7 separate regions of the Homo sapiens genome follow, and all the other regions are linked to region 7. Evidence: promoter capture Hi-C in 16 types of primary human blood cells and fetal thymus (Javierre and others, 2016). All regions are on one chromosome and are shown on one strand. The core of a region is centred on a gene start or on the middle of the fragment in contact, and the rest is flanking DNA. Distances in the headings are between cores, read along the strand shown.

Evidence for each region. The method cuts DNA at HindIII sites, captures the fragments that hold promoters and counts their contacts. A CHiCAGO score of 5 or more calls a contact.
Region 1: a contact is called between a fragment that was not itself captured here and the fragment with the promoter of RGS2 in region 7, in 11 of 17 cell types (neutrophils, M2 macrophages, monocytes and 8 more). The highest score is 20.8, in neutrophils.
Region 2: a contact is called between a fragment that was not itself captured here and the fragment with the promoter of RGS2 in region 7, in 17 of 17 cell types (M0 macrophages, monocytes, M2 macrophages and 14 more). The highest score is 42.7, in M0 macrophages.
Region 3: a contact is called between a fragment that was not itself captured here and the fragment with the promoter of RGS2 in region 7, in 4 of 17 cell types (monocytes, neutrophils, M1 macrophages and 1 more). The highest score is 18.5, in monocytes.
Region 4: a contact is called between a fragment that was not itself captured here and the fragment with the promoter of RGS2 in region 7, in 2 of 17 cell types (M0 macrophages and total B cells). The highest score is 6.3, in M0 macrophages.
Region 5: a fragment that was not itself captured here is called in contact with the fragment with the promoter of RGS2 in region 7 in 5 of 17 cell types (monocytes, M1 macrophages, M0 macrophages and 2 more); the score reaches 22.9 in monocytes.
Region 6: a fragment that was not itself captured here is called in contact with the fragment with the promoter of RGS2 in region 7 in 3 of 17 cell types (total B cells, naive B cells and M0 macrophages); the score reaches 8.4 in total B cells.

What each region holds. Positions count from the first base shown.
Region 1 is chr1:192,998,176-193,001,063 of GRCh38, reverse strand. No RefSeq gene overlaps it. Among named protein-coding and RNA genes, the nearest start is that of RGS2-AS1, 51 kb to the right of the region's middle. The HindIII fragment of the contact is 8,959 bases long and covers 1-2,888 here.
Region 2 is chr1:193,018,274-193,021,097 of GRCh38, reverse strand. It overlaps UCHL5 (ubiquitin C-terminal hydrolase L5), which reads left to right. Exons shown (of 11, transcript NM_001199261.3): 10 at 1. Among named protein-coding and RNA genes, the nearest start is that of UCHL5, 40 kb to the left of the region's middle. The HindIII fragment of the contact is 2,819 bases long and covers 106-2,824 here.
Region 3 is chr1:192,957,460-192,960,646 of GRCh38, reverse strand. No RefSeq gene overlaps it. Among named protein-coding and RNA genes, the nearest start is that of RGS2-AS1, 11 kb to the right of the region's middle. The HindIII fragment of the contact is 7,616 bases long and covers 1-3,187 here.
Region 4 is chr1:192,594,536-192,597,461 of GRCh38, reverse strand. The region is part of intron 2 of LOC105371664 (a long non-coding RNA gene); the gene reads left to right. Among named protein-coding and RNA genes, the nearest start is that of RGS1, 20 kb to the right of the region's middle. The HindIII fragment of the contact is 833 bases long and covers 896-1,728 here.
Region 5 is chr1:192,938,544-192,941,419 of GRCh38, reverse strand. The region is part of intron 1 of RGS2-AS1 (RSG2 antisense RNA 1); the gene reads left to right. Among named protein-coding and RNA genes, the nearest start is that of RGS2-AS1, 8.3 kb to the left of the region's middle. The HindIII fragment of the contact is 607 bases long and covers 1,216-1,822 here.
Region 6 is chr1:192,616,944-192,620,156 of GRCh38, reverse strand. The region is part of intron 2 of LOC105371664 (a long non-coding RNA gene); the gene reads left to right. All of the region lies in intron 1 of LOC107985241 (a long non-coding RNA gene), which reads right to left. Among named protein-coding and RNA genes, the nearest start is that of RGS13, 18 kb to the left of the region's middle. The HindIII fragment of the contact is 1,035 bases long and covers 1,446-2,480 here.
Region 7 is chr1:192,807,678-192,810,509 of GRCh38, reverse strand. RGS2 (regulator of G protein signaling 2) reads right to left here and starts at 1,471. Exons shown (of 5, transcript NM_002923.4): 1 at 1,329-1,471; 2 at 243-344; 3 at 79-140. The coding sequence starts at 1,438. RefSeq lists silencers at 218-277, 1,785-1,994 and an enhancer at 1,235-1,454. The HindIII fragment of the contact is 4,593 bases long and covers 255-2,832 here.

The DNA.
Region 1 (2,888 bases), core at 151-2,650, 190 kb before region 7:
TCTCTCTGTTCATAATTTTCTTTTTTCTTTCTTTCTTTTTTTTTTTTTTGCTGTGCAGCAGCTTTTTAGTTTAATTAAGTCCCTTTTGTCTATTTTTGTTTTTGTTACATTTACCTAAGCCAATGTCCAAAGGAAGTTTTCTAGGGTTTCTTCTAGAATTTTTATAGTTTCAGGTAATATATTTAAGTCTTTACTCCATCTTAATTTTTGTATATAGTGAGAGATAGGGATCTAGTTTCATTGTTTCGCAGATGGCTATCCAGTTTTCTCAGAACTATTTATTGAATTAGGGTATCCCTCCTTCAGTTTAAGTTTCTGTTGATTTTGTTGAAGATCAGTTGTGTGTAGGTATGTGACTTTATTTATGGGTTCTCTATTCTGTTGTATTGATCTATGTGTCTATTTTTATATCAATAACATGCTTTTTTTGGTTACTGCAGCCTTGTAGTATAATTTGAAGTCAAGTACTATGATGCCTCCAACTTTGTTCTTTTTGCTTAAGAGTGCTTTGGCTATTTGGGCTCTTTTTTGAAATGAACTTTAGGATTGTTTTTTCTAACCGTGAATAAGGACATTGGTATTTTGATAGGAATTACAATGAAGCTATAAATTCGATGTTTTATAGTTCTTGTGTACATCTTCCACCTCTTTAGTTAAATGGATTTTTTGTAGTAGTTGTTGTAAATGGAATTTAGTTACTGATTTGTTTCTTAGTTTGATCATTATTGTTGTATAGAAATGCTACCTATTTTTCTATGTTGATTTTTTTATCCTGAAACTTCTGGATTCATTTATCAAATCTAGGAATCTTTTGGAAGAGTCTTTAGGGTTTTCTAGGCTCAAGACTATATTGTCAGCAAACAGAAATAATTCAACTTCTTTTCCAATTTGGATGTCTTTTATTTATTTCTCTTGTCTGATTGCTCTGGCCAGAACTTCCAGTACTATGTTGAATAGAAGTGGTGAAAGTGGGCATCTTTGTCTCATGCCAGTGCTTAGGAGGAATGCTTTTAGCTTTTCCCCATTCAGTATGATGTTGACTGTGTGTATGTCATAGATGGCTCTTATTATTATTATTAATTTATTTTACTTTAAGTTCCAGGATGCAAGTGCAGAACGTGTAGGTTTGTTACATAGGTATATGTGTGCTATGGTGGTTTGCTGTACCTATCAGCCCATCATCTAGGTTTTAAGCCCTGCATGCATAGCTATTTGTCTGAGTGCTCTCCCTCCCCTTGCCCCCCAACCCTCTACTGGCACCAGTGTGTGTTGTTCCCCTCCCTACGTCCATGTGTCCTCATTGTTCAACTCCCACTTATGAGTGAGAACATGTGGTGTTTGGTTTTCTGTTCCTGTGTTCGTTTGCTAAGGATGATGGTTTCCAGTTTCATCCATGTCCCTGTAAGGGACATGATCTCATTCCTTTATATGGCTGCATAGTATTCCATGGCGTATATGTATATGTATATGTATATGTACCACATTTTCTTTATCCAGTTTATCATTGATGGGATTTGATTGGTTCCACATCTTCACTATAGTAAATAGTGCTGCCATAAACATACGTGTGCATGTGTCTTTATAGTAGAATGATTAATATTCCTTTGGGTATATATCCAGTAATGGAATAGCTGGGTCAAATGGTATTTCTGGTTCCAGATCCTTGAGGAATCTCCACACTGTCTTCCACAATGGTTGAACTAATTTACCTTCCCACCAACAGTGTAAAAACATTTCTATTTCTCCACACTCTCGCCAGCATCTATTGTTTCTTGACTTTTTAATAATTGCCATTCTGACTGGCATGAGTTGGTATCTCATTGTGGTTTTGATTTGCATTTCTCTAATGATTAGTGATGTTGAGCTTCTTTTCATATGTTTGTTGGCCGCATAAATGTCTTCTTTTGTGAACTGTCTGTTCATATCCTTTGCCCACTTTTTGATGGGGTTGTTTTTTTCTTGTAAATTTGTTTGAGTTCCTTGTTGATTCTGGATATTAGACCTTTGTCCGATGGGTAGATTGCAAAAATTTTCTTCCATTCTGTAGGTTGCCTGTTCACTCTGATGATAGTTTCTTTTGCTTGTGAGTGCTGTCAGGTGGCAAATACTCTGTATGAGTTCCTTGCTTATACATAGCCTCAGTGTGGTGGTTTTCTCAAATGCTAGTTGTAGTAACAGTGTACTGGACATGTAAGTAGACTCTTGGCCACCTGCAGAGATGGGAAGGTGGAGGTCTTGAGAAACTTTTCTCATTCCCAACATTCCCAAGCACTGTGCATGGTGTCAACAGATTTTTGTATTGGGTTGTGCAGTTTGACCTCCAGGCCAGTAGGTGGCATTGGCAGGTAAGAGTCAGCTGCAGTGGTAGCAGTAGGGTGTGTGTTTGATCTTTTTTTACCTAAAGAAGCTCTCTTGATGCCTCAGGCCATGGACCACATTGTGGGACTCCACAATGGCCTAGGCTCTGCTCTCAGAGCTAGGCAAAGCTGGGTGAAGCTGCACGAGGCTCATTTGCTCTCAGGTCCATCAAATGGCAGGTGCAAACACCAGCCCTGATTGGGGTAGTCGGAGAGTGGTGTAGGTTCTGTGAAATTTCCTTTGTTATAAATGGCCTTAGTGTGGTGGCTTTCTCAGATGCCAGCTGTAGTAGTAACGTACTTGAAGGGACTCAAGGCCTCCTAAGTAGCCAGGATGGTGTGGGCAATGGTGGTAGCTGAGGTCCATAAAGGATTTCTTCTTCCTGAGGGTTGTGTGATTGTGTCAGTAGATGTTATAATGGGCTGTGCAGGTTGACCTCCTGGCCAGTAGGTTGCACTTGCAGGAGAGAGACAGCTGTGACAGTGGCCGTGGGATTTATGTTTGACCTTTGTTAGCCAGGAGAAGTACTC
Region 2 (2,824 bases), core at 266-2,765, 210 kb before region 7:
GGTAAGTATTTTATTGGTAGATACTTAAATTAAGTTTAGAGTCTCCAAAAACATAAAATGTATTTTTTATTTTTTGCTTGAATAGAGGTAAAATTTTTGGAAGCTTGTACGTTTTTATTCTTTTGCTTTTGCCTCTTGTTTTCTACTCTGTAAGAATTAGTTCAATTGAGACTGTAAAACAAAAATAAAGAATTACCCCACTGCTTTAGGCTTCCAGATTCTTAGTGTCAAGACCTCAGGTTATGCTGTATTAAAATAAAATTTAAAACACTTCCTTTAAGCAAAAGTAGATTTTTAATGCTGATAATTGAAATAATATTTTCCTATTTAGCAAAAATTTGAGTTGATATAACAGAATTTAAAAGTAGAATGGACATTGTTGGGTTTAAAAAAAAAATAGCCTGTACTACGAAATAGGTTTTCTTATTTCTAATTTAGTATCCATTCCACTGAGGGAAAACTAGCATAAGTTAGTGAAGAATTCTGATTTCTATGATTTTTTTCATAAGTAACAATAAAATATTTGTTGAATAAGTAAAATGCAGTTAAATTGTTTTTAAGTTCATACTGTAAATCAGTGTTTCTGAAAGTGAACATCAGTGGATACTCTTTAAAATACATGTTACCTGGCCCCTCCCCAGATATTCTGATATAGGGGAAGGATTCTTTAATAAGTTCCCCAAGTGATTCTAATGCAACTGGTCTGTGTACCACAGTTTGAGAAACACTTTGAGAAGACACTACTAGGCAAATAAAATTTTGGACCATTAACTTAAAGACGAGAATACATGGTAGGTATATTTTCCTTATTAATTTTAAAGTTTACAAAGCAAAGATTGATTTCAACCAAGCTGTTTCATGTTATACATTCTAAATAATATGAGATGTGAGCTAATAAGTTTTTTGTGTATATTACCTTATTGATTGAAACATGTGACCCAACTTTTAGCATTAAATGTAAAAATTATTGCAGAAGACTGCTAAATCTTCTCTTTTCCATTATAGGTTTTTCTGTTCATGCATCTCAGGGTGTATTCTAAGATGGGAAACTGTTTTTAAAGTTTTAGATTAATACAGGGTCCTGTGGTTCTCAAAATTGCTTGGTTAACAAGAATACCTAGATATGATGTTATTAATCATATCAAATGTTTTTCTGTTAAAAATATTAAAATAACTATAAAATGTGCTAAATATGTGATACATCAGATTTTAAGTTAGATAAATGTTACTAGGGACTAGGACCCTTAGATAAATATTAAATGTATAAATTTTGCATTAAAATTGATCTGTGAACAGAATTTTTTGTGTGTGCAAATTAGTAAGTAAAAGAACCACTGTTGTTTGATTTTTAATTACACTATATCCCCAGATTTTTTTGAGAGCATAGTTAGAGAACAACAGCTTGTCAGCTTAACATTAGAATAATTATTCCTTAGTTCACATTTTTTGGACACAAGGTGGCAGCATATAAATACCTGATGTTAGTGGAACACCAACTCTGTTGTGTTTGCCTTCATTTTCTTAAGGAAAGTAGTTATTGACCTTCTAGTTGCTTATTTCTCTAAGCTGTTCTTTTATTAATATTCCAGAAGCAATATTGAGATAGATTTATTTCTTATATACATGCAATAACTATTATTCTCCTAGGTTCTGAAGGAGCTTAGACTCATTTAATTGGAATTGTTGAAATGTTTTAAATTATTCATCAAACATTTATCTAGCTGCGAGGATATTCCAGGCACTCTGTTAAGGTCTAGGGATGTATACATAACTGAGACATATTATTTTCTCTTAAGCAACTCATGGTACAATTTGGGAAAGGAATAAATGAACAATTATGGTATTGTGCTAAATAGTATTATTTTGATAAATGCCAGGATAAAGTCAGGCTAAAGATCCCCAGCAAGCACAGGGTAGCTCCTAAATAGCTTTATAGCCACTTAAAATTTCACATCCATAAAGTTTTAAATATGTGGTGGGAATTAAGTGCTTAATCTGTAGCACTATATCCGTTTCCTTTGCAAGAATATATTTTTGTTCATCTTATTTTGGAAAAAAAAGATACCATATTAAAATATCATTTTCTGCAGATAAATGCAAATTTAAAAAATAAAGCGTGTTGAAAAACTGTTAGAATAAAGATTAGATTTTATAATTATATAAAATCTTTACCAGTGATAGTTAATTACTTAATGGTAATACTTCTAAGAAAAATTACCTATAGAATTCAGAAATAGATAAGTTGGAATAGTGGATCTTACTGTGTTTTGTTTTCAGGGAAAATAGGATAAAAGAACAAGGTGTGAGAAGGAATAGAAGGAAACAAACAGGAAAGATATGGCTGCACCATGCAGTGCTACTATATGCTGAGATTCTACAGGATGAGATTTTTGAATAGCTGAGGCAGTTGCCTATAATCTGTGATGACATAAAAGTATTTGACCTAAAATCTTTTTATTTGCAAAATAATAAATAAAAAGTGATTCTCCCTCGGCATGGCTATAATGAACTTGGTTAGAACCTATAAATGTTTTTGTTATGTGAGACTTTTTAACCGATGAATTCGTTGAATACACACCACATTTAAAAACTGCCTAGGAGGTAATCCAAAAATATATAGTTATAAAACTTCTTGTATTATGTACCAAATCTCTTTCTTAAAATATAAAATAAAATTATCTAGTTTAAGATTACATTTGTGAGACTTCTATTTATTCAGGTATATTTATGATTAACAAATTTTTGTCTACACATTTGTATGTAATTATGAATCATTGTCTATCTTAAATTTTTAACTACCAATAACTTAACGTGATGTAAAATC
Region 3 (3,187 bases), core at 144-2,643, 150 kb before region 7:
ATTAATGAGCTCTTTCCCTTTTAATAATCTTTTTTCCATTAAATTAGGTGTAGTTATTTATTACAGTGATATACTTGCCAAATATCTGACTAAACAGTTCTCAAATTTTAGCATCAACTAGAAGTACTGGGAAGAGTTTGTTAAAAATGTAGATTCCTGGGACCCATCTCCAATTTCCTCTCCTCCTTTCTTCACCTACTAAAATTATCCAATCCTTGGAGTCTAGTTCAAAAACCACATTCTCTGTAAATACAATTTCACAAAGAATTCTTTCTTCCTACTCCTGTAAGCCTCACTCTTAAAGGCTCACACTGAATTCTTGAGGTTGGTACATGTTCTGTTCCACACTCCCCTCCCTTTCCCACCTGGATTCCTGCTGTTGGCTTTTTTTTTTTTTTTTTTTTTTAAGTGATGCTCCTTTTGCTTGTTTTCCACAGGGGCTTTGCCAAATGGAAGTTCTGGTCAGCATTTTGCCTTCTGGACCTAATCTATTTTTCTGTTCTTTTCAGTTTCCAGTGCTGATTCTATTTCTCTCTTTTATTTTTCCTTACAGCTAAATGTGGTATAGTAAAGTAAAAAATGAACTTAGGAAAAGCAAGGCTAGTTTCAAATCTCAGTCCTACCACAACTACCCCTATGCCCTTGGGTAGTCATTTCATCTCTCTGGGTTTTGTTTCCTTCCTCTGTCAAACAGGTCAAAAAGAGTGTTATGAAGTTTTATTGCAGTGCAAGAAAGATACACAGAAGGTGTTCAACAAGTGTTACTTCATTTAAAATAATGTTGATTTCCTGAAGAGGTTAGGTAATGGGTACAAAAAGTACATTTTGATAGAAAGAATAAGTTCTAGTGTTCAATAGCATAGTAGCATGACAATGCTTATCAGTAATTTATTATGTATTTCAAAATATCTAGAAAAGATTTGGAATGTTCTCAACACAAGGGAATGTTAAATGTCTGAAGTGATGGGTATCCTAAATACTCTTTCTTGGTGATTACACATTGTATCACATGTACTGCATAAATATGTACAATTATTATGTATCAGTAAAACATAAATAGATAAAGAAGCACAGAGTTGATGTCTTATTTATCTTTGTGACTTCTCAGATTTTTTTTCAGTGTTTTGTGCATAGGATATACCAAGAAATTTTGTTAAATTGAATTAAATGGAATGAATCCAACTAATTCTAAGTAATTAGAAATAATTTGAAACCCTGTTTCAAAACTCAGGAGAGATTTTAAGCCACACACTTAATTTACTCTTTTAATAATGCTGCTTGTCCTAACATGAGGTACCTTGAAACATTTTGAAATGGACAATTAATTATGGCACTTGCATTTAGAGAAGTTTAATGCAATGTGCTATTTCAGGTTGATATTTTCTTTATAATATTTAGAAAGAGGAGCTTTACTTTTTTGTAAATTTGATAGATTTTTATTGACTAAAGTCAACTAATTTATCTTGATTTTTCCCATTTATTTGATTAATAATAATAAATATAAAATAAGCCTTACTGTTTAAGTCACTGCAGTTGAGCAGAACAAATGACATCACAGGCCAGGTTCAGGTTTCTCCTGACTCATTACAATAATGTCTTCAACATTTGGTTTAGCTTTGTCTTTGCTATCCCTAGGGATATGCAGTTTCATGATAGCATAATTTAGAAATGCATTGAAGATAATTTGTAGTATAAATCTGTAACAATAGGGTTCACCATTATTTTACTGAGTTATTCAATTGTATTTTGAAGATTCAGTAACTGCTATCATTAAAACTTAATTATTCAAGTAACTATTTGGGTATCAATTAAGCAGTCTAAGGATAATCTGTGCCTTTGACTTAATTATATATATTTCCTTAGAATTATTCTCTGTTTTGTCCTATTTTTTAATTAAAATTTTTTATTTATTCTAAAATATTTTACTAATTAGGAATTTGAGTAACAGAAATGAAGCCTGGTTTAGAATGCACAAGAATGTGATTTAGAGCTAACACAGATGTGCTGATCACAAGAAGACCTCTAGAGATCATCCAGCCTTTCCTTTACCTTTTTATTATATTCAGGTTCTCAACAGTTTGGATAATGTTTCACCTGTGTCAGCAGATTTTCTTTACTCAGTCTACCAATTCAAATTCTAATTTCTTCCAGAAACACCCTCACAGACACACTCAGAAATAATGTTTTACCAGCTATCTGGGCATTCCTTAGCCTAGACAAGTTGACACATAAAATTAACCATTACACATTTGTAGTTAAGGGTGGCCATGCTAAAAATTTTGCAAATGTAACATACTTGGGAGTAACCTCTTCTCCTTATTCTTTTTCCTTCCTAAAACTCTGGAGGTACAGTAGTTGTTTTGAGACCATGGAGACTGAATATACTATAGGGAAGAAGAGCAGGACAACTAAAGGAACTGGGTACCTGATGGCATTATTTAGATACAGAATCCAGCCTGGATTGCACACTCCCAGGTTTTTGCTGTGTGACTAAATAAGAATTAACCACTACATTAGATTTTCTTGCATTCACTTGAATGCAATCCTAGCAGCTACACTCAACATATCTCTAATTTATATTATCCTATGTCTCTCACCTTTCTTCTTATTTCTCACCTTTTCTCATATCCATGAGTGGTACTCCCATTAGTCCAGGATCTCAAACCAGAATTACAGAGTGAAATTCAATTCTTCCATCTCCTTCATGATCCTGTCCTCCTAATACCTCTTTAACATTGCATCAGTCCATCTACTTCTCTTTGTCCTGCTGCCATATGTTAGTACAGGATTTGCCTAGATTATTGTAGCAAACTTTTTTTTTTTTTTTTTTTTTTAGATGGAGTTTTGCTCTTGTTGCCCAGGCTGGAGTGCAATGGCAGCTATCTCAGCTCACTGTAACCTCTGCCTCGCGGGTTCAAGCGATTCTCCTGCCTCAGCCTCCTGAGTAGCTGGGATTACAGGCATGCCCCACCATGCCTGGCTAATTTTGTATTTTTAGTAGAGACAGGGTTTCTCCATGCTGGTCAGGCTGGCCTCGAACGCCCGGCCTCAGGTGATCTGCCTGCCTCGGCCTCCCAAAGTGCTGGGATTATAGTGTGAGCCACCATGCCCGGCCTGTAGCAAACATTTAAAACTGATCTCTGTGTATTTAGTCTTGCTCTACTTCAGGACATTCTCAATACTGCAG
Region 4 (2,926 bases), core at 63-2,562, 210 kb after region 7:
TGCTGGAACATAGGAGGCATTTAGTCAATAGGTGTTGAGTAACTAATACTCAGGATACAAATTTATTCATTTTTTAAATCCAGCAACCATTTATTGTGTACTTACTGTGAGTAAGGCATTCTAAAATGAAGACGTGTTCTTTGCCTTCTAGGAGATTATAATTTAGGGGGGGAAGGAAGACATGTATTTTAATACTAAATGAAGTAGCATATTTTTCTCCAAGATGATTATTGTTCCATACAATCCTAAGATGTAGGCTGGGTAGTAATCAAATTATCTTTAGCATCTTTTCATATTGCTTGACTTCGTGTTTTAATTGGCTTTTATTTTTCTCAGCTCAAGAATATATTTTTATGTGTCTGTTATCTAAAAAACTTAACGATTACATTATTTTGCTAGGATAACCATCTCTCTCACGTCTGTTCTTGTTAGTATTATGCAAGCCTATTGTCAATAGCATTTGTCCACTGTATCAGTCAGAGCTCTCCAGACAAGCAGAACTAGTAGGACACAAACATTATATAAAATATATGATTATATATGTATGATTACATATATATTTATTTATGAAATAAATATATTCAAGGAATTAGCTCCTGTGATTGTGGGGGTTTGCAAGTCCGAATCTGTAGGGCAAGCAAGCACACTGTAAACTCTCAGGCAGAAGCTGATGCTGCAGTCTTCAGCCTGAATTTCTTCTTCCTGAGGGTAACCTCAATTTTGCTGTTAAGGACTTTCAACTGATTGGATGAGTAAGCCTCACCCACATTATTGAGGATGATCTCCTTTATTTAAACTGATTGTAGATGTTAGCCACATCTACAAAGTACCTTTTTAAAACAATGCCTAGATTCCTGTTTGGCTGGGTAACTCTGTGCCATAGTCTAGCTAAGCTTACACCTAAAACTAGCCACCATGATCACCACTTATAATATGAAGAAGGTTTCTAAAATAATAAAATTGACAGTTAAAATTTTTTTTTGGCAGACAATAAAGGACTTCTTTTATGAATTGTTATGTTTAACTTCCAGATTAAATTTTGAGGGTCTGAAATATCCAACAGGAATCATAGAGTTCTGAGAGATTTAAAGTGATGCTTTGATTTCCATGAAGTCAAAAATTGTGTTCTATTATGAAAACCACTTCTAGGAAATCTATACTTCATAAGACACAATTGAGAAAGCCACTTTTGTTGAGATTTAATTCCCACTTCTTTCTGCCACTTCACAATCACTCACTGAAGAAAGAGAACAAATGTTCTTGTCGCAAATGGGATTGAAGTCTAGCCTCTGTCATTCATCACTTGAAACAGTTTCTTGTAAACAACCAGAAACATCTTCAACTTTTCTTAGATACATTTTCTAAGTGTCTTTAAAAGTAAGGAAAACACAGATTGGATATCTAAAGTCAAGGAGAGTTCTGAGTTCAGTTTAGTAAAATTTCTATGCATCGATCTATATGTTTCTCTGGAACCATCTTTTAATAATTGTATTTCAGTTCATATTAGAGAATTTGTTCTTAGGAACTATGTGTAATTCATTTCTCTTGAGGCTTTCTTCTCGCTTACATCCTAGGTAAAAATAACCCTGAAACTTCAATTCATAGCCTGTGTAAATAAAAAACCATACCTAGTGTTCTGTGAATTCTGGGAGGAGGGAGAGCTGGAGAGCTTATATTTCATGGTTTCCACTGCTTCTTAAGTTTCTTTTTCCTGTTTCGTTAGAAGCTTTGCTTAATCGTTAAAACCTTGACATAGACAAGCTTAGTCTCCTCCTCACTTAATTAGCAACAATTAAAAAATGTGTCTCCATCCGCACAAAACATTTCTTAGATAAATAAATAGATGTTATGAAGGGAAATATACCCAACTATGTGTATGTGTGTTGGAAATTGGATGAAATGGAGAGCTTTACAGTATAACAAGACAAATAACCTCAAACGAAGCAATAGACATGCACATGCCCCATCGCTGCACCACCTCCTCCCTCCTCCTCCCTACCCCTCCTCCTCCCTACCTCCTCCTCCTCCCCACCCCTCCTCCTCCCTAACCCCTACTCCTCCCTACCCCTCCTGCTCCCTACCTCCTCCTCCTCCCTACCCCTCCTGCTCCCTACCCCTATTGAGTTTTCTGGCCCCTTTCTCTCCTTTATTCTTTCTTTCTTTTCTCAATTTGTAGCTATCAGTTTCTTTCAAGAACTGCTATAGCAACTTTGTACCCTTTCTTATGCAGAACGTCTTCTCTTTTCCACCCATATTCTTTCTGTCCCCTGTGATTCTAATCTGCTCTGAGGAAAAACTCTTTCTATCGGATATACGATAATTATGGTAAGAGAACAATAAGATTAAACACAAAGTCTCATTAAAAGGGCATACATTTATTGCAAATGATGAAAATAATGCAACCCAAAATAAGACTTTCATCCAGAAAAACATATAATACCTGAGTAAAGATTGCAATGTTTTCTATTCCATGGAAAACTGCTACTGAACCAAAGGAGAATGTTTTTTCCCTTTCTCCTCTGTTTTAGCTACCCACAGGAACTGTTCAGTTTTTGTCTTCCTTTCACATTTCCAACCCAAATATTATAGTAAACACTGTTGTTAAAGGTTATTGATGAATTGAGTGATATTATCATTCATTTTGCAAACACGCATATTTGCCAGGAATGATAGGGAGTTGAGATGCAAAAATGAATATGACATTTTCCCTTCAAAGATATTACAGTCCATTGCAGTATCATTTAAATAAATTATACAAATATATGTTAGCAGTGCTGTGATAAGCCTGTGTTTGGGGAGAGTGGGGGCACAAAAGAAGATCTAGACCATTTTTCACTGCAGTGTTTAGGTGTAGGTCACACAAGTCATTTTGAAAAACAGGTAATGATTAAATGCTCTGAAGGTGGACAATTTAATGCTGTGGAAA
Region 5 (2,876 bases), core at 270-2,769, 130 kb before region 7:
CACAAGACTGCTTGGGCTTGAAGTCTAATTCTTCCACTTACATGACCCAGAAGAAGTTATCTAATTTCTTTGTGCCTCCATTTCCTCATCTGCAAAATTAGACTAGCAATAGTAACTACCCTCATAGGGCTGTTAAGAAAATTAAATGAGTTAAAATGTATAAAGGTAAGAAAAGTCAAATACTGCATGTTCCCACTTAAAAGTGGGAGCTAAACATTGGGTACACACGGACACAAAGATGGGAACAACAGACACTGGGGACACTAAAAGAGGGGAGGGAGAGGGTCAAGGGTTGAAAAACTACCTATTGGGTACTGTGTTCACTATTTGGGTGACAGGTTCAATAGAAGCCCAAAGCTCAGCATCACACAATATATCCATGTAACAAACCTGTACATGTCCCTCCTGAATCTAAAACTTAAAAAAATAGGAAAGAAAGAGAAGTGCTTTGTATATAGCATTATCTAAATCTTTGCTATTATTGTTATTTAACATATCTTTATTGAGCAGCTGCTATGAGACAGACATTGAGGAAGTATGAAATTGTCTTTGCAAAGTATGACAGTGTTTGCTCACTAGAGAAATTATGTAATAAGGGTCAGAGAGTGTTGGGTGTCATTTTGAATTTGGGTGATCCTGATTTTATAAGGTTATCAGTCTGCCCACTTTGCAATTATGCAGGTTATTGTCTATAGATTTTAGAGTTAGACAGGCAGAACCTGAATTTTATTTCTGGCTTTGCCTCTTACCAAATATCTTCATTTAATAAGTGTCAGTACCCTTATCTGTAACATGGGAACGTTAAATGTACCTACCTCATACTGTTACTATAAAGAATAAACAAGATTATATATGTATGTATATATGTATGTGTGTATTTATACATATTGAATTTTTAGCACTGTGTGTGCTACATGATAAGAACTCACTAAATGGTAGTTACTGTGAATCCTAATTTAAGAAGTCGTGATGGTATGTTTATTTCAATGCAAATTTCCGTGCTTAATGTATTTGTCTGTCTAATATGCGCTCTGAGCTATTGACAAATTGGATTCATTGTTAGTTGCTTAAAATATACCCCAAAGAGGAAGAATGCACACTGGGCTAGTATTATAGTTATTTTTAACTATAATAAAAAATGGAATGGAAAAAAGCAGAATAGAAATAAGAGAGATTTACAATGTTGCTAAAAATACTTATGGATTTCTTAAAGCTTTGATGATGAAATTATAAGCTAAATTTATGTTAAAAATAATTATTGAAAAGAAGAAGATAAAATTGTGGAAGAGATATATCCAAAATACTTCCTTAGCTAACAAAGAATTAACATTTTAAAATTATCATTTTTAAAACTTGCATATGGAGCTTCAAATTTTATCCTCTTATTATTTTAAGGAAACAAATAAATTTAGTGAATTTTATAAAGCACAAATGTTTGCTCTTTAAAAGATGAAGTCTGATTTAAATATCTTTTTGTCATTTTCAAACTTATTTTCAAATCTACCCTTCTGATTCCTATTCTTGTCTCTAAACATGCATTATTATATGCTAGAGCTAGATGGATTTAATTTTTTATGATCTAACACAAATAGAAAGTGAAATATGAAAAGGATATTTCCATTTACATAGCAATAAGTTAACATTAAATCTAGCTTTATGATGTTTAACTTTGAGGTATCCTGCCAAAACACAATTGACTGATAGGATGGAAATGAAAGCCACTAATGGGATGCCTTGTTCTATAAATCAGAGTTGAGGATTATGGAGCTAAGGTCATTTTCTTTATCGCTCTTTGAGGGAAGGCAAAGTAAGTAAACAAGCTTAAATGAGTCTATGGGCCTGGGTTCTCTGCAGGGATACTAAGAGAAGACTAAGACTAAGAGGTAACTGACCTCGGGAAGTTTATCAGCCTGTGGCAGATACCTACAACCACTCAGGAAACAAACTAGGAGTAGGTGCTTGCAAGTAAATTGACTATAGGAGAAAGAAAAGAACAACATTAGAAAGAGAAGATCACACAGAGGAAAAGTGAATTATAAGGTGAAACGCCCAGCAAATATCCTGTAATTCCTCTGCACTGCACAAGCCAGAACATGATTCTAATTCTTCCATGCTAGAATTGACAACACAATCTACTGAGAGAGGTTCTTTAGCATTTAAAAAATATGAGAATAAAGATTTATTTGGCAAAAATTTTCTTATTATTAAAAAAATTTTAGATAATTTTTTACAGCCCTCTGTGCAGAAGACACGTATCTCATAAAGGAAAGACATTTATATATACACACGCCTTGCATTTTAAGCCTCAAATGATTCTTCTAAAAATACAAAGTATAAACTAGGTATTTGGCACGAAAAATTTAAAAGAAGAATGTACAATGTCTCTTTTTTTAAAATAAAATATTTATTTCAACTTTGCAGGAAACTAATGCTTTATTTGTTATTAAATTCAGTTCCTTTTTCACCTCCACATTTTCTCCTAGACCACTGGAATTTCCTCTAACTCTTTGATTGCTCGCTTGTTTTTATGTGTTTTGCCCTGCTTATTTTCCTTTTTCTGGCTAGTTTCAGCGTCTAGTGAAACTACACAACTGTAGTCCAGTAGTTCCCTGAACTTCAGCTTTAATGAACAAGAAAGTAAAAATACATTAGGGGACACCAACATGGGATTGCCAATTTCCTTTTTGTTTTGCTAATGAGAGACATTAAAAATAAATTTCAAAATACTGAATAAAGACTCAGAAGAGTGGGAGGGTGAGAGGGGGTGAGAGATGAGTAGATGGTGAGAGGAGGGAACCATGTACACTATTCAGGTGATGGTTATACTAAAAGCCCACTACACAGTCTATCCATGTAACAAAACTGTGCTCGTGCTC
Region 6 (3,213 bases), core at 714-3,213, 190 kb after region 7:
TAAAGAGTAGGAATGTTTCTATGGTGAGGATGTCCAGAGATGGTTTTGCTAATAGAAAAAAAATGGGATGTTAAAGATGTTAATTAGCCGTGCTATGGCAACAGCTTTATCCACAGTGCTAAGCTTCTCTATTTGCCTTACATGTTTACAGCTTCATGATGTTGGCTATGAAAATACAAATAGTATCAATATATATTTTAATGAAAAATTATCAATAAGTCATTTTTAATAGCTTTCATGAGGAGTTATTTACATACCATAAAATCATTCATCCTTCTTGTAGAAATTGAGATTTTATGTGTAAATATATAGTATTTGTGCAACCACCGCCACAATCCAATTTTAGAACATATCCATCACTCCTGTAAGATCCCACATATCCACTTCCACTCTCCACCCTCCCTGAGAGCCAGGCAACCACTAGTCTATTTTCTGTCTCTATAGATTTGCCTTCAACATACAAATATAGGATGGAGGGCATAATTCAACCCATAATATATTATAATAACAACAATTATAATAAATACTCATTTGCCATAGAATATACTAAGCACTGATCTGTAAGCCTTACAAATAATTTAATTAATTCTCATAACAAATCTATAAAATAGATACTGTGATTATCCCTGCATTATAGATGTTTCAAAATTGGGGCATAAAAAGGTCATACAGCTAGCAAATAGTGGATTGTGGATTGGGCGTTAGAATCCAGGCCATCTGGCTTCAATGTGTACACTCTTATACCCCAAAGTATACTGTACCACTCCCTAGGCTTCACAATCTGCCCAAATAGCCTTTACATTATAATGAAATGGAAAAACTCTTTGATGATGGACAGTTGACAACCCTAGTCTCTTAGGATGGCATTATGAAGGAAATTATATTCCTCCTTAACATGGAAATAAAGATTGAGAATGGTCCTTGATTTCTGCTGAAGAGAGAATACATTATGTGAGATGAACTGACTCATAACATAACACTTTTATTAGGTTGAACCATATGAAATTGTGTTTTTATAAGGTAAAAATGGTAGCATATGGATAACTTTATGTGGTTCAAGCTAATATCTTTACTCCTGTTTAAGCCAACTTTTATTGGCTTCCACGACTTGTCTTTTCTTGGTAGATCAAGTAGGCAAATCACTTTCTTTCTCTAAAAATTTCTTTACCTTTCCACACTCTACCACTCCCACCTATCCCAAACATCTGGGCAGCCAGACCTGCAGCTTCCACTGCTTCAGGGAAGGATGATACACAGCGTGCAGGTGATACACAACTACAACAACAAAATAGGATTACTGGGCTTTCAAAGTTCAAATGCCTAAATCAGAATATAAAATATAAATTTTGGGGGCAAGTAGAAATTTTTCCACCTCTGTTCCCAGGTTAAATAAAGAGTTTTAGTATCAGAGAAGGGAAAAAAAGTCTGAGTAGCAGCAAGAAGCTTCTTTCCTGAGAAGATGAGAGCCAGTTACTAAGCAATGGAATGTATTAGTTATTACTAATCCTTATAATAATTTTCCTCAGGAAACTAATATTTGTTACTTAGTTATAACACAGGGTGGCTATACCTTCCTGTCCCAGGCCAATCCTGGAAGTGGAGGAGGGTGAGGGATGACAGAAATGTGTCCTATTTTTTGGTTATTGCCATGGATCACATCAAGATGCCACAGTCCTCCCGGAACTCCATGGCTTAAGTTACATTGTGGTTTATTTCATAGCAAGTCTAAACTTACCGACAGAACATATGTCCACTTTAAAAAAATAAAGATTTTTGCACACTTAAATTTGTTAAATTTCACACACTTATTTTTTTATTTCATATATATATATTTTAAATTATACTTTAAGTTTTAGGGTACATGTGCACAACGTGCAGGTTAGTTACATATGTATACATGTGCCATGTTGGTGTGCTGCACCCATTAACTCGTCATTTAACACTAGGTATATCTCCTAATGCTATCCCTCCCGCCTCCCCCCACCCCACAACAGGCCCCAGTGAAATTTCACACATTTATTACTTGACAGATTATGGTTTTAAATTTTTAAATCTTAAAATTCAGCTGTTCTCTTTTTTTTTGCATAAAATAAATGTTCCAGGTTTTTATAGACATAGTGCTAAGGACTGATGTTTCAATATTTATAAGAAAGATTGTATTTATAATATATTTTATTGTAAGCTATAAGGTACTTTATGAAGCACTTAGATAAATATTTACAATATTAGGAATTAAAGTATTTTCAGATCACTTTGACTTTATGTATTAAAAAGTCATGTACTATGTGAAACAGTAGATTATACAGATAAATAAGACACAGTCTGTATGCTTAATTGCATTTTGCATATTTTTTATGACTTTAATCTCTATTTGCAACAATTTAGGCAGGTTTACAGATTAAATAAGTTCTGCATATACATGCTGATAGACGTGAATATAGCGAACAAGACAAAGATAGAGAGTTTTACTTGGGCAAGCTTGAGTTAAAGAGTTGCTAGATAAACAAATCCCAAATAAGCAACATGAATCATGGTCAATTATGACATATGGAAGCCCTTGATGTACAGATAACCAATTTTGGTGTTAGAAAGAGAAGGACCTATATTCCCAACTGAGTCATCAAACTATGTGCATGATTATGAACAAGTTACTTTATATTATAAATGTTAGTTTTCTGAGGAAAATTATTATAAGGATTAGTAATAACTAATACATCTCAAGTGCTTAATAATTGATAAATTTTATTAATATTATTTTGTTGCTGATAATATTTTCCCATGATAATGCCAATTCACTATATATACCTTTAAAAGATTAGTGATCATGGCCATTATTTGAGAACAGTGTTTTCACTTATAATGGAAAGCAGTATTTTATCTGTAGTTACCCCTAGCTTATGTACACTGTTGCTGTCAATTCAAGGAGATTGTAAATGAATGGGAAAGAAGGTGACTATTTTTATTTCCAGCAATGTTTTGAACCAACCAAGTAACTGAAAATGCTTCCATTACAAAACAAAGAGATTTTCTGGCTAAAATAGTTTTAAAATTATTTTAAATTCATGGTTGCTCTTACTAGTAAGAAAGGAAAATTCTCAATTTCCTATACAAAGTGGGAATTGAAAATCATAATGGTAGGATGGAAAACTGGAATTGTGACTCAGCCTGGCAAATAATCTTTTTTGTTTCTTTCCTGGTTAAGGAAAAAGAAGG
Region 7 (2,832 bases), core at 222-2,721:
TGCTCTTTTGTTAGGTGGACGCAGCCTTTCCAGGCTTTTGCGATGTTAGCAATGGCTCAAGCTCAAGAGTTAACTTACATTTGCTGGCTAGCAGCTCGTCAAATGCTTCTGACCACAGCTGTGCTTCCTCAGGAGAAGGCCTGCAAGAGAGGTTCTGTATGTTAGCTTACGCACATCAGAGTTCCCCTTTTCAGTTCAGCAGCTAACTATTGATATTTGCAAGCACAGGATTCTCAACTTACTTGATGAAAGCTTGCTGTTTGCTTTTTTTGCCGGTTTTGGGCTTCCCAGGAGTAGAGGAATTTTGTAAGAAGTAGCTCAAACGGGTCTTCCAATCTTTTAAACTAAAACAAAAAATTAAAAAGATAATTACTAACTAGCAACACTTGAATATGCTACTGCAGCTGAACGCATTTTTACCAAATAAAGTCACCCAGTAACTAGAGACAAACCGCATAAGGCAAAGCAAGAACTCTTCAAATAAGTCTTATCCACCTAACATTTAAACCTCATGTACTGAGCAGTTTCGTCCATTAATCTGACCGTATCTACTAGTTTTACAACTAAGGGCAGGGCTACCTATAATCACTAGGGTATTTTAAAGAATTGTTAATGAATTTAGTTCAAAAGGCAGACACTATTTCTGGCTCACAAAGGGCATCAGTTTGTTTGCAAGGTTAATTACAATTCCGAGACGTTTTGCACTTTAATGAAAAGGACAGACATGGAACTGTCTGGAGCCGGCCCACGCTTCTCTCTTTAGAGCAGGAGGTTCTGGACCACGCCAGAGACTGTACAAAGAGGTGGGTGACTGATTCCCCTGCGCTCTTCCTTCCCCACCTACGACACTTCTTTTAAGCAGACGCTGCATAACAATTATTTGTTCCACATTCGGACTGGGTGAGATCTGCTCTATAATTAAAAAACAAAAATGGATTTTAAACGAGTATATTCAGAACCAGCAAGAGCATCACCTTCCAGTAGCTGTGTAAGCTGATGAGAACTCATCATGCAACGTATGAATGCTGGGGACGCGCTTCAGCCGCAGGATTCTGATGTCATTTTGAATGCAGGAGGACAAAAAGCCAACCCGCAATTTCTTAGCGCATCAACCACCGCCCTCATATCAACTGTCTCCCTCGGTTCTTAAACTGTACCCGAGCATCACCCAGATTTAACCTTACTTAACAAATTGACCTTTTCGATTTTTTTTCCCTGCATAGGCTCAGGCTAGTTTCCTAACGTCAAAGGCGAGCCCGAAAGTACCGCGTTTGCAGCTTGCAGTGTGGGGCAGGGGGTGGCGGGAGAGGGAAGAAAGCCATACTCACAGGGTCCGTTTCATCTTTTCTCGCTTCTCCTCGCTCTTGTGGCCACTGCCTGCGCTCTTGTCCATGGGTCTGCAGTCGTGTTGAACAGCCAAGAACATAGCACTTTGCATTATCGTTCTCCCGCTGGAGCCCCGGCTGTTTGCGGCTGGGCGTGCGTCGCAGCATTTATGAGGCCTCGGCTTGGGGGCGGGGCCTCGCGGCTCCGGCCCCGCCTCAAGAGGACGCGGATTGGTCGGCTGCAGACTGGCACGGGGATGGGTCAGCGCCCGCCGGCGGCAGTCACGGCTGCTGCCGAAGGGTCTCGAAGCCGGGGCGCTGCTGACGTCTGCGGCCCCGGCTTCTTGCGCACTCGGGCCACATAGCAGCGGCCAGCTGGGGCAGGTGTGGGAGCAGATGGAGAGTCTTCAGTGTGGGCCGCTGCGCACGACCTTTTGCTGAAGCGTGGCGGCCGGGCGGGCTCGAGGGCTTTGCGACGGAGGGAGGGAGCCGAAGTTGGCGGCGGCCCGGCGGGGGCGCCGGCGCTCCCTCACCCACCCTGACGGGCTCCCCAGCCCGAGGCCAGAGCGGCGATTCCCTGGCAGGAGGAGGTCGCCCGCCACGAGGCCGGAGTGCAGTGGCCTGATTTCGAATGAAGAGTGGGATTTTTCTTCCTTTTTTGAGCGCGTTCCCTGACCCCGCGCCTCATTTCTTGTTTGCTGTCCTGCTGTAGGACTCATTCGACACCCCCTGGTCTGTGAACTGAGGCAATGGGGAGACCCTCGCCCGTTTCTCTCTGCCACTTAACTTAAGGAAGGAGTAACCTGAAACGTTGATTGCCCAGGGGCAGGGTGGGATCTGCTCTGCAGCTTGCTGGGGCGTCTTGGAACACTTTGAGAATGAACATTAGGGATTGAACAAGAGAAAGTGACTTTATCAGAAGACAGTGCTTTAATTGGGTTTGCATTTTTGATCACTACTAGGCACGTGGCTGGGTCTGTCTATAGGGTCATTCCTCAGGAGTCCTTGGTCACATCTCCTGCCAAAATAGAAATCACAGATTTCCTTATGGTGGGAGAGAAAGCTGCAGACATAGAGATTTCATAGCTGTAATGCACCAGAATCAGTGAGTTCAAGGAGTCAGGATTTCCTCATGAGTCATTCTTGTTGAGTTAGGATTTACCAGAACATTTAATAACTGGCAAAAAGTAGGGGGGAGAATGAGTTAACAGTTTCCTTGATTAAGTTTTATTTGTTAATTCTTCAAGTATCATCTCTACTCCTGAAGGTTTTAAAACGACTTGATTGGTAAAGACAAATAGATTACCTCAACCACAAAATGAGTTGATTTCGGATAATATTACCAGAACTAGCCAGTGAAATGTTTAAGCGGCTTTGCAACCAAGCTGCAGATATTCTCTCTACTTTGTATTCGACTTCTTAAAAGGAAATTGGAAATAATTAATATATTCTTACGGTGAGCTGCCAGTAGTTGGAGCTCCAAGTTTGACTTGGAGGGCAAAACCTG